4 separate regions of the Homo sapiens genome follow, and regions 2, 3 and 4 are each linked to region 1. The links are contacts of gene promoters, found by promoter capture Hi-C in human tissues and cell types (Jung and others, 2019). All regions are on one chromosome and are shown on one strand. The core of a region is centred on a gene start or on the middle of the fragment in contact, and the rest is flanking DNA. Distances in the headings are between cores, read along the strand shown. Region 1 holds the start of NOP58 (NOP58 ribonucleoprotein). Region 2 overlaps NBEAL1 (neurobeachin like 1). Region 3 overlaps ICA1L (islet cell autoantigen 1 like). Region 4 holds the start of MPP4 (MAGUK p55 scaffold protein 4).

The links. The method cuts DNA at HindIII sites, captures the fragments that hold promoters and counts their contacts. A contact is called where the count stands out against the background at its distance.
Region 2: a fragment that was not itself captured here is called in contact with the fragment with the promoter of NOP58 in region 1 in 1 of the 25 tissues and cell types used here (liver).
Region 3: a contact is called between a fragment that was not itself captured here and the fragment with the promoter of NOP58 in region 1, in 1 of the 25 tissues and cell types used here (aorta).
Region 4: a contact is called between the fragment with the promoter of MPP4 here and the fragment with the promoter of NOP58 in region 1, in 1 of the 25 tissues and cell types used here (H1 embryonic stem cells).

Annotation. Positions count from the first base shown.
Region 1 is chr2:202,263,871-202,267,355 of GRCh38, forward strand. It overlaps NOP58 (NOP58 ribonucleoprotein), which reads left to right and starts at 1,893. Exons shown (of 15, transcript NM_015934.5): 1 at 1,893-2,116. The coding sequence starts at 2,072. The HindIII fragment of the contact is 22,419 bases long and covers 1-3,485 here.
Region 2 is chr2:203,019,447-203,022,931 of GRCh38, forward strand. The region is part of intron 2 of NBEAL1 (neurobeachin like 1); the gene reads left to right. Among named protein-coding and RNA genes, the nearest start is that of NBEAL1, 6.3 kb to the left of the region's middle. The HindIII fragment of the contact is 6,368 bases long and covers 1-3,485 here.
Region 3 is chr2:202,841,613-202,845,097 of GRCh38, forward strand. The region is part of intron 1 of ICA1L (islet cell autoantigen 1 like); the gene reads right to left. It also overlaps the pseudogene KRT8P15. Among named protein-coding and RNA genes, the nearest start is that of ICA1L, 28 kb to the right of the region's middle. The HindIII fragment of the contact is 3,353 bases long and covers 166-3,485 here.
Region 4 is chr2:201,696,696-201,700,180 of GRCh38, forward strand. It overlaps MPP4 (MAGUK p55 scaffold protein 4), which reads right to left and starts at 1,949. Exons shown (of 22, transcript NM_033066.3): 1 at 1,892-1,949. RefSeq lists enhancers at 2,579-3,080, 3,081-3,485. The HindIII fragment of the contact is 2,902 bases long and covers 1,607-3,485 here.

The DNA of each region.
Region 1 (3,485 bases), core at 643-3,142:
TAAGGAAATTTTACCCCTGTTGGAAGACAGACTTGTGAAACAACTGGGGTATTTAATCCCAGTCCCTGAGACTGAAAGGCTTCCAGAAAAGCAAGTAACACTAAATCAAGAAGACAGTCTAAATTCAGCCCCGCACAGTGGCTCATGCCTGTAATCCCAGCACTTTGGGAAGCCGAGGTGGGTGGATCACCTGAGGTCAGGAGTTCGAGACAAGCCTGACCATCATGGAGGAACCCCATCTCTACTAAAAATACAAAATTAGCCAGGCGTGGTGGTACATGCCTGTAATCCCAGCTACTCGGGAGGCTGAGGCAGGAGAATTGCTTGAACCCGGGAGGCAGAGGTTGCAGTAAGCAGAGATCATACCACTGCACTCCAGCCTAGGCAACAAGAGTGAAACTCCGTCTCAAAAAAAACAAAGAAGAAAAAGAAAAAAAAAAAGACATTCTAAATTCATACCCTGGGGTCATTTTAACAAATGCAGCAAAAATAGGAGAGGCTTATTGAAAGAAAACTGTGCTAATAATTCATTTGGCCAGACAGAAGGGAACGGCCAGGAATGCTCACAAATATAGTGACAGTAATGGTGTCATTCTGAGGCCTTCGCCTCAAGGCAGGGCTTGAAAGGGGATAAAGTCTAATGGCACTAGCTGGCATTTCAAATTCTAGATGCCTGAGGCAGACTGGCACCGAAACAGCTCCTCGTTTCTCTCAAAGTGAACATATAATTCATAGAGGGTTAACAAAATAATATCGTGAAGTTTTTCCCCTTTAAATCTCTAGCGGTGGCGGGGCGCGGTGGCTCACGCCTGTAATCCCAGCACTTTGGGAGGCCGAGGTGGGAGGATCCCTTGAGGTCAAGAGTCCGAGACCAGCCTGGGCAACATCGTGAAACCCTGTCTCTACAAAAAATTAGCTGGGTGTGGTGGCACAGGCCTGTAGTCCCAGCTGCTCCGGAGGGTGAAGTGGGAGGATCGCTTGAGCCTGGGAGTTGGAGGTTGCAGTGAGCCGTGATAGTGCCACTGCACTCCAGCTTGGGCAACAGCCAGACTGTCTCAAAAAAAAAAAAAAAAAAAAAAAAAAAAAAAAAAAAGGCCGGGCCTAGTGGGTCACGCCTGTAATCCCAGCACTTTGGGAGGCCGAGGCGGGCGTATCACGAGGTCAAGAGATCGAGACTATCCTGGCCAACATGCTGAAACCCCATCTCTACTAAAAATACAAAAATTAGCTGGGCGTGGTGGTGTGTGCCTCTAGTCCCAGCTACTGGGGAGGCTGAGGCAGGAGAATTTCTTTTTTTTTTTTTTTTTTTGAGACGGAGTCTCGCTCTGTCGCCCAGGCTGGAGTGCAGTGGCAGGATCTTGGTTCACTGCAAGCTCCGCCCCCTGGGTTCAGGCCATTCTCCTGCCTCAGCCTCCCGAGTAGCTGGGACTACAGGCGCCTGCAACCACACCCGGCTAATTTTTTGTATTTTTAGTAGAGACGGAGTTTCACCGTGTTAGCCAGGATGGTCTCGATCGATCTCCTGACCTTGTGATCCGCCCGCCTCGGCCTCCCAAAGTGCTGGGATTACAGGCGTGAGCCACTGCGCCCGGCTAGGAGAATTTCTTGAACCCGGGAGGCGGAGGTTGCAGTAAGCCGAGATCACACCACTGCACTCCAGCCTGGGTTACAGAGCGAGACTCCGTCTCCAAAAAAGAAAAAAAGAAAAAAGAAAAAAAGGCGCAAAGGCTCCGTTCAGGCCCTAGATCCCGCGATACAAACTTTCTCGGCCCGCCCCAGCCCGCTGTGGCGGGAACATTCTGGAAGTGACGGCAATCTCTGCGGCAGTCTTCTGTCGGAAGTGACGTTGCTATCCCAGAATCCTCAGAGAAGGAGTAGCGCGTTCGTGCGTCCTAGTTCCAGTACAGCGTGGAGGGTTTAGGCAGCGTGTTCTGATTCTTTGCGGGACGGCGAGCGCATTTGTGCTTTGCCCGCCGCGGCCTAGGAGGCCTTTTGAGGCCGCGTAGTCGGTGTTTTTGAACTGACTCTACAGCTTCTGGCAGGCCGTGCGGCGCCCTGACCCGGCCTCACCATGTTGGTGCTGTTTGAAACGTCTGTGGGTTACGCCATCTTTAAGGTAGGTGGGAGAGCGAGCCGTTAAAGGGGGAAGGCGGATGCTGGACAGACGAGGAGAGGGAAAGACTTAAGCACGGAACTACTCAGAGTAGCGTGGGTGCCTGTTATAGCCCGGGCTCTGGGAGGAGGGAGAAGGCCTTTACACCTGAGAGCCATGTTACGTGTAACACGTGGCCCCGCCGTTTGGGGAGACCCGTTCTGCATTAGAGGATTTTATTTCCTCCCGTTGAAGGGGTGGGCAGGAGGCGTGTTAGAATTTAACAGATTATAGGGAATTCGGACTTTATTCTAGATGTTTTGAGGAATGATCGAAAGATTTTTTTTTTTTTTGAGATGGAGTTTCGCTCTTGTTGCCCATGCTGGAGTGCAGTGGCGCAATCTTGGCTCACTGCAACCTCCGTCTCCCGGGTTCAAGCGATTCTCCTGCCTTGGCCTCCCGAGTAGCTGGGATTACAGGCCTCCATCCACCACCACGCCTGGCTAGTTGTTTTTGTTTGTTTGTTTGCTTTTAGTAGAGACGGGGTTTCACCATGTTGGCCAGGCTGGTCTTGAACTCCTGACCTCAAGCGATCCACCTGCCTCGGCCTCCCAAAGTGCTGGGATTACAGGCGTGAGCCACCGTGCTCGGCCAATCGAAAGGATTTAAGCAGAGGAATGACCTGCTAATTTGTCTTAATACGGTTACTCTGCTGTGTGGAGATTAGACTCGAGGAGATAAGAACGGCAGCAAGAATACTTTTGCATTCATTTGGACAAGATGAAATTGCCTGGTATGGAGAGAAACAAATATCGATAGAAATTGTGAAGGTAGAACAGGAAGGACTGGCTAATAGATTGAATGTGGGGTTTTGGTTTAAATAAGATGTTAAGAAAGTTTCTTGGGGAAGGACTAAAGATTTCCGGTTTGGGCTGTGCGAAGCTTGCGTTGTCTATTAGACCTGATAATGCAGTTGTGTAGATCGGGCAGTTCAGTATTTCAGATTTGAAGCTTAGGGGAAAACATCTGGGCTGGTGATGTCAGTTTGAGGTTTGGTTGTTTTCGTGGGGAAAGTTTGACAAGTTCGTCAGCACTGAAATGGTTGAATGGTAAGACATTCGTATCGCAAGATGCTGTTGAGATGTTAGGAAGAATGAGTGAGATTGAGTGCCTTTTCTTGTGCGGTGCAACTCTTCTGAGGTCTGTGAATATAGCAATGAAAAATAAAGTTTTTATGTATATTCTACATATATATATGTTGGTAGAAAGCAAAAACGCTAGGTAAAAATAAATGTAATACAATTTTAGCTATGAACCAAAAAACCATTTGTGGTGTGGATGCAAGAAAGTCTGGATGGGTGCAGAGTTCTCCATGTTTCACTTCTGACATTTG
Region 2 (3,485 bases), core at 697-3,196, 760 kb after region 1:
GAGTATAAAGTCCATCTTTAATGATTAAAGTGTCTGCTGTTTTGTTGCCCTGCTTGGTTTGATGTCTACACAAAACATTGTATACATACCTGATTAAAGAAGACACCTTGGAAGATTTATGAAGGACTGCTTCCGGGCAGTAAGGTTAAGACCTCCTCCGTATTTGCCACAGTGCTAACCTTGGCACAGATATTCCACAGTGTATTAACAATAGGTCAATATTAAGGTACCTACCATCACAGCGTTTCTGTCAGGTTTTAAAGTTGTCCCTGAACATTGCAAAAGTTCAGTAGGTCTAGTAGTAGTACTACCTCAGAAATAACCCTTGGGTAATACTGCTTGGTCACAGCAATGCTAAAAGAACGCTAATGGAATATATATGTCTTCTGCCTGGGTTCAATTGTAAGCTTAAATACTAGTGACTAAAGTCCTTTAAGTAGAATTAAAATAAATTACCAGTTTCAGTTTTTAGCAGATGGAGTCCCAATATTTGAAAGAATTTGAGTATAAAACTTGGCAATTTATTTGATTTTATTTTTAATTGATAATAATTTTATCTGATAATTTTAATTGATAAATAATTTTAATTGATAATAATTTTAATTGATAATAATTTATGGGGTACAATGTAATGTTTTGATACATTGTGGAATCATCAAATCAGGCTAATTAACATATCTGTCACCTCACATACTTACCATTTCTTTGTGATGTGCAATTTGGTTTCTTACCAAACTTTTCAGGTCTAACTTCACTTTCTCCTTCTAGGAATAGGCTTTAATTAAATTGTTAGAAACATGTGTCTTCTTCCTAAAAGGTTACTTTGTAAACCTTATGTTGTTATTGTATAATACAAGCAGGATGATTTCTAATCACCCAACAGTCCTGCTTTCTAAAGATTCTTTCACCAGTGTATAAGACTATTAATTCAAGTTGTATAGTCTGAACCTAGGCGCAGTGGCTTATGTCTGTAAGGCTCACTGGAAGGCTGAGGTGGATGGATCATTTGAGATCAGGAGTTTGAAACCAGCTTGGCCAGCATGGTGAGACCCCGTCTCTACTAAAAATACAAAAATTAGCCGGGCATGGTGGCATGCACCTGTAATCCCAGCTACTCAGGAGGCTGAGGCAGGAGAATCGCTTGAACTTAGGAAACAGAGGTTGCAGTGAGCCGAGATTACGCCATTGCCTTCCAGCCTGGGTGACAGAGTGAGACTCTGTCTCAAAAAAAAAAAAAAAAAGAAAAACCCCAAATTATATAGTCTGAACTCTTCTTGCCTTCAAATGGTTGTCCCCACCCAGGGTCAAGGATTTGATTAACAGCACATTTCTTATAGCTCTTATAAGTTAAACATTAATTTGAACAGGTTTAATCTTGTATCTGGATTTTAGTTCAGTAGTTAACTACTTCTTGTCTGAGTGTATTTTTCTTAAGTATAGAAGTATTTTAATACTAGTACTTAAGTATACAGTTTTTTGTTTGTTTGTTTTGGAGACGGAGTCTCACTCTGTGGCCCAAACTGGAGTGCAGTGGCCCAATCTCAGCTCACCACAACCTCCAACCTTCTGGGTGCAAGCTATTCTCCTGCCTCCCTCAGCCTCCCGAGTAGCTGGTATTTACAGGCACATGCCACCAGGCCCAGCTAAATTTTTGTATTTTTAGTAGTGACGGGGTTTCACCATGTTGGTCAGGCTGGTCTTGAACTCCTGTTTTTAATAGAGATGGGGTTTCACCATGTTGGCCGGGCTGGTCTTGAACTCCTGACCTCAGGCGATCCACCCTCTTCAGCCTCCCAAAGTGCTGGGATTACAGGCGTGAGCCACTGCGCCCAGCCCAGTATTTTTTTTAATGTCTAAAGATTTCAGGGCAGGTGTGGTGGCTCATGCCTGTAATCCCAACACTTTGGGAGGCTGAGGCAGGTGGATCACTTGAGCTTGGGAGTTTGAGACCAACCTGGGCAACATGGTGAAACCCCATCTCTACCAAAAATACAAAAAAATTAGCCAGGCATGATGGTGCACACCTGTGGTCCCAGCTACTCAGGAGATAGGGTGGGAGGATTGCTTGAACCCGGGAAGTGTAGGTTGCATTGAGCTGAGATCGTGCCACTACACTCCAGCCTGGGTGACAGAGTGAGACCCCATTTAAAAAAAAAAAATTAGTTTATATATATGTAGTAGGCACCATGTTATTCACTGTATTTTTTGATAATTCACTTTTAACATACAGTAAGAGAGATGGTGCTGAGAACAATTTTTGTTTCTATATTATTATATACAAAGTTTTGAGACTCATATGTGTGTAGAAAAAGACATGTATCGGCTGGGCACAGTGGCTCACGCCTGTAATCCCAGCACTTTGGGAGACCAAGGTGGGTGGATCATGAGGTCAGGAGTTTGAGACCAGCGTGGCCAAAATGGTGAAACCCCGTCTTTACTAAAAATACAAAAAAAATTAGCCAGGCACGGTGGCGGGCACCTGTAATCCCACCTACTCGGGAGGCTGAGGCAGGAGAATCACTTGAATCCGGGAGGCAGAAGTTGCAGTGACCTGAGATCTCGCCACTACACTGTAGCCTGGGCGACAGAGCAAGACTCTGTTTCAAAAAAAAAAAAAAGAAAGAAAAAGAAAAAGACATGTATCATAAATTCCCTATCTCAACTGCAACCCTTGGACAGACTTAAGGACGTATTTCTATTAGACACTTAGCCTTTTGGGAGTGCTGCAGTTAGTTGGTCACTAGAATATGTAGAAAAAAGAAACTGAGCCTCTCAAAGTCTTAGATAAGATTAAGCTATTTTTGTTCTGTCTGGTGTAAAGTATCAAATGCGTTAACTGAGTAAAAACATACAAAGTGACTCAAAAGCACAGCATTTTGAAATGTGGCAGTGTAGATTGAAAACCATGGTTCATTTTTGTCATTAGCTTTAAAAAATTTTTTATTTTATTTTATTTTATTGAGATTGAATTTTGCCCTGAACAGTTTTGTGAAGCTGCAGTATTAGAGGTGATATTTAGTCCCAATTCTGTGTCTGATCTTAAGGACCTAAAAGGTTAACCTAGTTTCTTTGTATCTCAGTTTTCTCATCTGTCAAATGGAAAAACATAACTATTTTACATATCTGTCAAAATTTTTTAGAAAAGAGATTTTATTTAAATGTATTTTAAGAGGAAGAGAGATAAAAATGTAATCTTTATAAGTATTTTGCAGATGTGTGGGTGTGGACATGTGTGTATCAGGATTACTTCCATTTGCCCTTGTATTAATATAATAATAGAGGGCAATATTCTCTTACTATTTTATCAGTAGTAATGAAGCTGTATTCATTAATGTCTTAACCGAGAATGTCTTAACTGATTTTAAATCTGTACTTATTTTTGCTTTCAAGGATAGTGCTTAATTATCTTGAATAATGATTTGAGGGTCCTCCCTACTCTAAACCAAATTTATTTTGGATGTTGATGATGCTCCATTTCCTGCTGT
Region 3 (3,485 bases), core at 592-3,091, 580 kb after region 1:
CTTCCACCCAGGACACCCCGAAAGATGCTGCTGCCCACTCGGGAGAAGCTCAAGGAGCTGATGCAGGCACCGGGCCCACGCGCATAGGAGCAGTTGCCGAAGGCCTGGGGGCCAGAGGACCACCTCTGGTGGACACCTTGTAGGACTTCTGGGTCACCATGATGGACATGGTTGATGCAGGAGTGGAGGCAGGTGGGCTGAACCAGATGGAGATCCCAGAAGGAGCAGGGAAGCTGCTTCTTGGTCTATTTTTTTTTTTTTTTTAGATAGAGTTTTGTTCTTGTTGCCCAGACTGGAGTGCAGTGGCATGATCTTGGCTCCTTAACCTCCCAGGTTCAAGTGATTCTCCTGCCTTAGTCTCCCGAGTAGCTGGGATTACAGGCACCTACCACCAGGCCCAGCTAATTTTGGTATTTTTTTTTAGTGAAGACGAGGTTTCACCATGTTGGCCAGGCTGGTCTCGAACTCCTGACCTCAGGTGATCTGCCTGCCTCAGCCTCCCAAAGTGCTGGGATTACAGGCATGGGCCACCGCACCAGGCCTATTGCAGCCATTATTTTTAATAGTTTTGTTTTTTAACATTCATATTAAAGACCCACCATTATACTATTATTCTAAATTTGTGTAATTGTACCAATGAGTTTTATACTTTTAGATGTTTTTGTGTTACTCATTAGCATCCTTTCCTCTCAGCTTGAAGAACTCCCTTTATCATTTCTTGTAAGACACATCTGGTGGTGATGAACTACCTCAGTTTTTGTTTGAGAAAGCTTTTATCTCCATCATTTCTGGAGGTCTACTTTGTCAAGTAAAGTATTGTTGTTTGACAGTTTTATTTTTTCCTTCAGCACATGGAATTTATCATCCCACTCTCTACTGGCCTGTAGGTTTCTCCTGAGAATCCACTTCTAGCCTTATTGGAACTCCTTTGTATGTGATTTGCTTTTCTCTTGCTACTTTCAGGATGCTCTCTTCATCTTTGATTTTTGACAGTTTGATTATATCTTAGTGTAATCTTGTTCAGGTTGAATCTGATTGGAGACCTTTGACCTTCTCATACCTGGATATTTATACCTTTCCTCAGATTTGGAAATTTTTCTGCTATTATTTATTTAAGTAAACTTTCTGGTCCTTTGTCCCTCTCTTCTTCTGCTTAAACTCCTATAACTAGGATATTTGCTCTTTTGAGAAAATCTTATAAGCTTTAAATCTTCTAAGCTTCATTTTTTCTTCTCTGACTGTATGTTTTGAAATAATCTGTCTTTGAGTTCACATATTAATTCTTCTGCTTCATCAAGTCTGCTGTTAATGCTCTCTACTGCATTTTTTAGTTCATTAATTGTATTTTTCAGCTCCAGAATTTGATTTTTTTAAAAAAATAATTTTAATCTGTTACATTTCTTATTTTGGTCATCTATTGTTTTGCTGATTTCAGTGAAATGTTTCTCTGTATTTTTCTTTAAATTCACTAAACTTAAAGCAATTATTTTATATTATTTGAGAGGCAGTTTATATATGTCCATTTCTTTGGGGTCAGCTACTGGGAGGTTATGTTTTTTAGGTGGTATTATGTCTCCCATTTTTCTTGTTGCCTTACATTAATGTCTGTGCTCTTAGTGGAACAGTTACCTTTTGTAGACTTTATGGGCTAGTTTCATTGTGGACTGACTTTCCTCCATGGGGTGGGGTGCAGTGGTTCTGGCACTAGTCAGGGTGCCAGCTGTGTGGTCTCTGTGCAGCTCTGTCTGCTGAGATTGGTATGGATAAAAATCACAGGGATCCATAGCAACCAACGTTCTGAGTTTCTGCAGTGGCGCAAGAGTTGTTGGGGTCTTTGGTGGCAATGACTGCTAAGATCACCCCAATCTATTTTTTTTCCCATCAGAGAAGCTATGGCTGAAGGGATCCCTCTTGGCACTGGTGCCTGATGAGTAGCACCCATGGAATAATCACAGAACTCAGGCCTGATGCACAAATGTGTGGAGGTACTGCAGTTCTGAGTTCCCAGGTAGTAATGGCATTGGTGTCTGGGATGCAGGGATCCTTGCTGCTGTGTAACAGAATGCGAGATGCAGATGCTTGTTAAACAGCTAAGAGAACTGAGAATAAGAGCACTAGTGAGTGCAGCATTAGAGTAGCTCTAGGATTGGGGTAAAGCCAAGATCTCTGTGGCAGCAGAGCTGGTACCCAGCGTTCAGCCACACACAGCAAGAGCTTGGCTCTAGGGCCCAGGGTGCAAACTCTTTAGCTGTATACTTTTGACAAATGGATATCTTATATAGAACATTTCCAACTTCCCAGAAAGTTTCCTTGTATCACTTTCTTGCCAATCCCTACCTTATCAGAAGCAATGAATGTGTTTTTTTTCCTTAGCTTTTCCCAGTTTATTCTTTTTGATTGTTGAATAGAATTCCATTGTATCAATATACCAGTGTTTCCAGTTTGGGACTATTGTAAATAAGGCTGTTATGAACATACCTATACAAGTATTTTTGCAGAAAAATGTTTTCATTTCTCTTGGATAAAAATCCAGAATTGGATTTGCTGTGTCAAAGGATTGGTGTACCAGCCTCAGCAACAAAGTGAGACCCCATCTCTACCAAAAATAAAAAAATTAGCCATACATTGTGGCATATGCCTGTAGTCCCAGCTACCTGGGATGCTGAAGTGGGAGGATCACTTGAGCCCAGGAGTTTGAGGCTGTAGTGAGCTATGAATGTGCCACTGCACTACAGCCAGAGGGACACAGTGAGACCCCATCTCAAAAAATCTATAAAAAAAGAAAATTAAAATTAAAAAAATAAAAAATAAACAAATAAGGAGTAGCAGCTGGAGGCCAACATATAATTTTTGCTACTGACAATGGTCAAGTTTCTGGATATAGCTTACTGTGAGAGCCAAATAATCTTCATAACCGAGCACTAAAATTAAATTCAACAAGCCAGTCAGAGGTAACTGAATCACCAGAGGCTTCCCTGTATGAGAGAAGAAAGAAGGAATTGAGATAAACTTGCCCAATTTTTGCTTCCCAAATTTACCAGACAAGCCACTCCTCCTCTAGAAAGAAATGAGAGGGTAGAGAGAGACTAGGAGTTAAACTAATTGAGCTCCTTTAACATAGGAGGAAACGTCAAGAATGAGAAAGATATATTCCCTGTGTATTAATTTCCTACTGCTGCTATAAAAAATGATCACAAACTTAGTAACTTACAACAAAATTAATTTACTGTCTTCCCATTCTGGAGGTCAGAGTCCTAAAATAAAGTTGTCAGACGGCTGCATTTCTTCTGGAGGCTACAAAGGAGAATCCATTTCATTGTCTTTTATAGCTTTTAGAAGCCACTTACATTTCCTGGCATGTGGTCCCCCTTCCTCCATCTTTAAGGCCAGCAGCATAGCATCTTCTAATCTTTCTCTAATTCTATATGTCATCACATTGTCTTATCTTCTTCTGACCTTTCTGCCTTCCCCTTAAGAAGACCTAT
Region 4 (3,485 bases), core at 699-3,198, 570 kb before region 1:
CACAGATAGGCGGTGGTTTCTTGAGTGAATGCAATGGTTAAAATAGCTTCTAATAAATCTAGAGCCAACTTCAGGGCTACCTAGATAACTAATTCATACATTCTAAAAGGCTCGTTTTGACCCAAAGTTTCTCAGCCATAGAGGCAAAAACAATAATTACAGTAATCTACAACTTATGCAAATTCTAAAAACTGTGCTTGGCTCCTCATCTTCAGGTTCCTATGACAAATTTATGGTGGACTGAATGTTGTGTCCCCACCCCCAATTCAGATGTTGAAGCCCTAATCCCCATTGTTGATGGCATTTGAAGATGGGGCCTTTGGGAGGTAACTGGGTTAAGGTCATGAGGTAGAGGCCTCAAGATGTCATTAGCGTCTGGGTAAGAGCCATCAGAGTTCATGTGTTCTCTCTCTCCCTGCCAGATGATGGCACAGTGAAAACGCGGCCATCTGAAAGCCAGGAAGAGAACCCTCGCAAGAACCCAACCATGCTGGCATCCCAATCTTCAACTTCCAGCCTCCAGAACTGTATGAGAAAATACATTTCTGTTGTTTAAGCCACTGTCTATGGTACTTTGTTATGACAGCCAAAGCTAAGACAAAACTCATAGAAAAAAACTTCCAGAAAATGATTTTCCCTCCCTCCAGGTAGCTAAGAAAACAGTTGCAACTTCTTGCCCTCATAGCACTTCTCATTTTCCCAGTTCTTGTATCCACTGGCTTGCTCAGTGTCTGTCTCCCGCAGGTGTCATGTCTGCAGAGGGCCTGGGGAGCAGAGATGTTGCTTATCTTGTTCATGCTGCAGCTTCACCTGCAACAGTGCTTGGGCCATAGCAAGCACTTGGTATGTTCAGTTGTTGTTGGGAAGGGGTAGAACAAGGAGAGGCCAAGATCCAGAAGTAAAAGGCTGATACCTCCCTCAAGGCAGTAGCCAGCAGCTGGGACTTCAATCCTAATGGGGGAGGCAGCTGAACTCCAGAGGCCTGTGCCCTCCCTTCCTTTCCTCCCTGGCCTGGTATCCTGACTTAAACCTCTTTCCCTATCAAACTTTAAAACTGGGGGCAGAAGCGGATCTTAGAGATAATCAAATGCAAAACCTTTGTTTTACAGATAAGGAATCTGACATTCAAGGAGGTATTCAGTAGAGTTAACATGTAGTAAAATCGAGTTTTCCTCTTTTGTTTCCTTAGTCCTGAAAGATGCTGATGCCTGGCATGATGCCTGGCAAAAGACTTACCTTCCTTTCCATGACTTCTGTACCAAATTTGTCAGTTGAAGCTTATCTATTTCTGCTATCTTGAGAGTGAGAATTCTTGATTGAGACTGCAAATAAGTAAGCACCCACCACATGCAATTCCGGACTGAGTACACAGAAAGGATAGCCAGTTCTTGACTCAGAAGATGCATTAGTGTGACTGATGCCTAAGGAATTTGTCCTAAATCTTGTTTTAAAAGTATTTCCATTAGCTTTTTAAAACGTACTATTAAATGCCACAACCCCCTACCCTTACTATGCTTGTTTTTCAAAATAGTGCTTTTTACTAGACAAACCCTAAAAAAGCACTTGGAAACTTAATGATGAGAAATGGCCCTTACAAAAATAGCTGGCTTCCTCTGGGTCCAAATGCTGTTGATTAGGACCAGGGCAAATGCCCATTGTACTCAATCTTCCTGACAACTCATTATTCCATACTGAAGAAATGGCTTCTCGAAGCAAAACCTGCTCTTTCAAGATCATAAAATTCCCCATATCATTTGAGTTAAAATGAAACTAAGCCATTTGAGTTAGATTACCCAGATTTATATCTTTAGCTATTAAAAACTGACAGGCAAGCTAGGCAGTTATGGATACATCTTCTGGTAACTGAGGATTATTTGCCAAGGTCTCTTACCTGCAAGACTGTAAACATGCATGTTGCTCCTATCCAGACAAAAGCTTTAGTAGGATACTAGTGGCCTGTTAGCTGCCAAAGTCACCTCACTGCTCCCGATAAAATCTCTGCACATCCTCTTTGATGTAATCCACAGATGCCTAACCCAGCCTAACAACTAAATTACTCACAAGCCTTTCCTGCCACAAATCTTCTTAAGTATTCCTTGAAGTCTAATTTGTATCATTTTCAAACCTACATTCTAGTATTTTCTCTCAAATTGCCAACACATAGTTAACGGCAGAAAAACATAGTATTTTTGTTGATTAGTTCAAGATGACAGACATTCCACAACAGAAGATAGCATTTTTAATGAAAGAAAAAAATGTGGCAGGACCGGAAATAAGCCAATAACCTACTAACCTTATTAAATCTCTCATGTTATGGTGAGAAAACAACTGAAGACTGTTCAGCTAATAATAGAAACCCATCAAAAACAGTACCTTCTGGTCAATCCCCTCCCAAGCCACTGTTCTGAACCTAACAAATAGTGCTTTCTGTCTCAGATAGGAGCTACTTCTTTATCTGAAAACTTAATACTGCAGGGAGTGCTCAGTGGGGAGAGCATTTGGAAGGGGATATTGCAGAAAGGAGAGGAAGGTATTGCTGACAGCAAGGCAAAAGGTAGAGACCAAATGGCAATTATCAGAGGGTCCTCAGCCCTTCTACCCATATTAATCACATGGCTTTCCTTATCTCTCCATCATAGATGAAAACACAAGTTGGGAATGTGATACATTTGTGTTTTGAGTACAGCATATTTTGTGAAAAGCACTTGATTTCAATAAGATTTTCATTTTTAACTCACTTTTAAGAACTTTCAATACATAACCAGCTATGAAATGACATCTCTGGCAGCTGTAGTAGCAAAAAGCACTGGACTTCTAGGGAAGTAGGGAGTAGGGAAGTTCTAGGCTGGAGTCCCAGCTCTGGCAGTGAGCAAATCTTGGTCACTGCTTGTCTGAAAAATGGGGGGAAATGGGGATAACACCTGCATCCTTGGGCTGCTGTAAGCATTCATTACGCATGTGAATGACCATTGTAAACTGCTGCAGGAGTGCCAAGGACTTCTATTTACAAACATTGGCCTGGAGATTTAGGGTTTTTCTTCCAATACACTTCAAAATTTATAACTTTAATATGCTATCTGAAAAGCATATAGTAGGAAGAATCCAAAGTAACTGAACAGTTTCATTCAAGACTCCAGTAAAAGGACGAATTGTAACATGGCTTTTCTTAGAACAGAGACAGCCTATCATCATTGGAAATCTTCTCAATGGGTCAATTTGTCTCAAAGTTTTTGTTTGTCCATTTCCACATATTATCCACCCCCGCCCAGAGTCAGAAATTCTGTAAATTTGGCTTTACCAGGCAAATGTGGTTATTTATGTGTTTGTTCAGAAACTCAAAACAATCTCCAATGTAAATGCAAAGTATTTAACATAAACGGATTTTTAAGGGTTGGTCCCCTTCCAACAGAGGACAGGCACATTCTGGTAGAGGCAGCAACAAGATGGAAAGGCCTCTTGAGAAAACATTACAACTGGGAGATAAT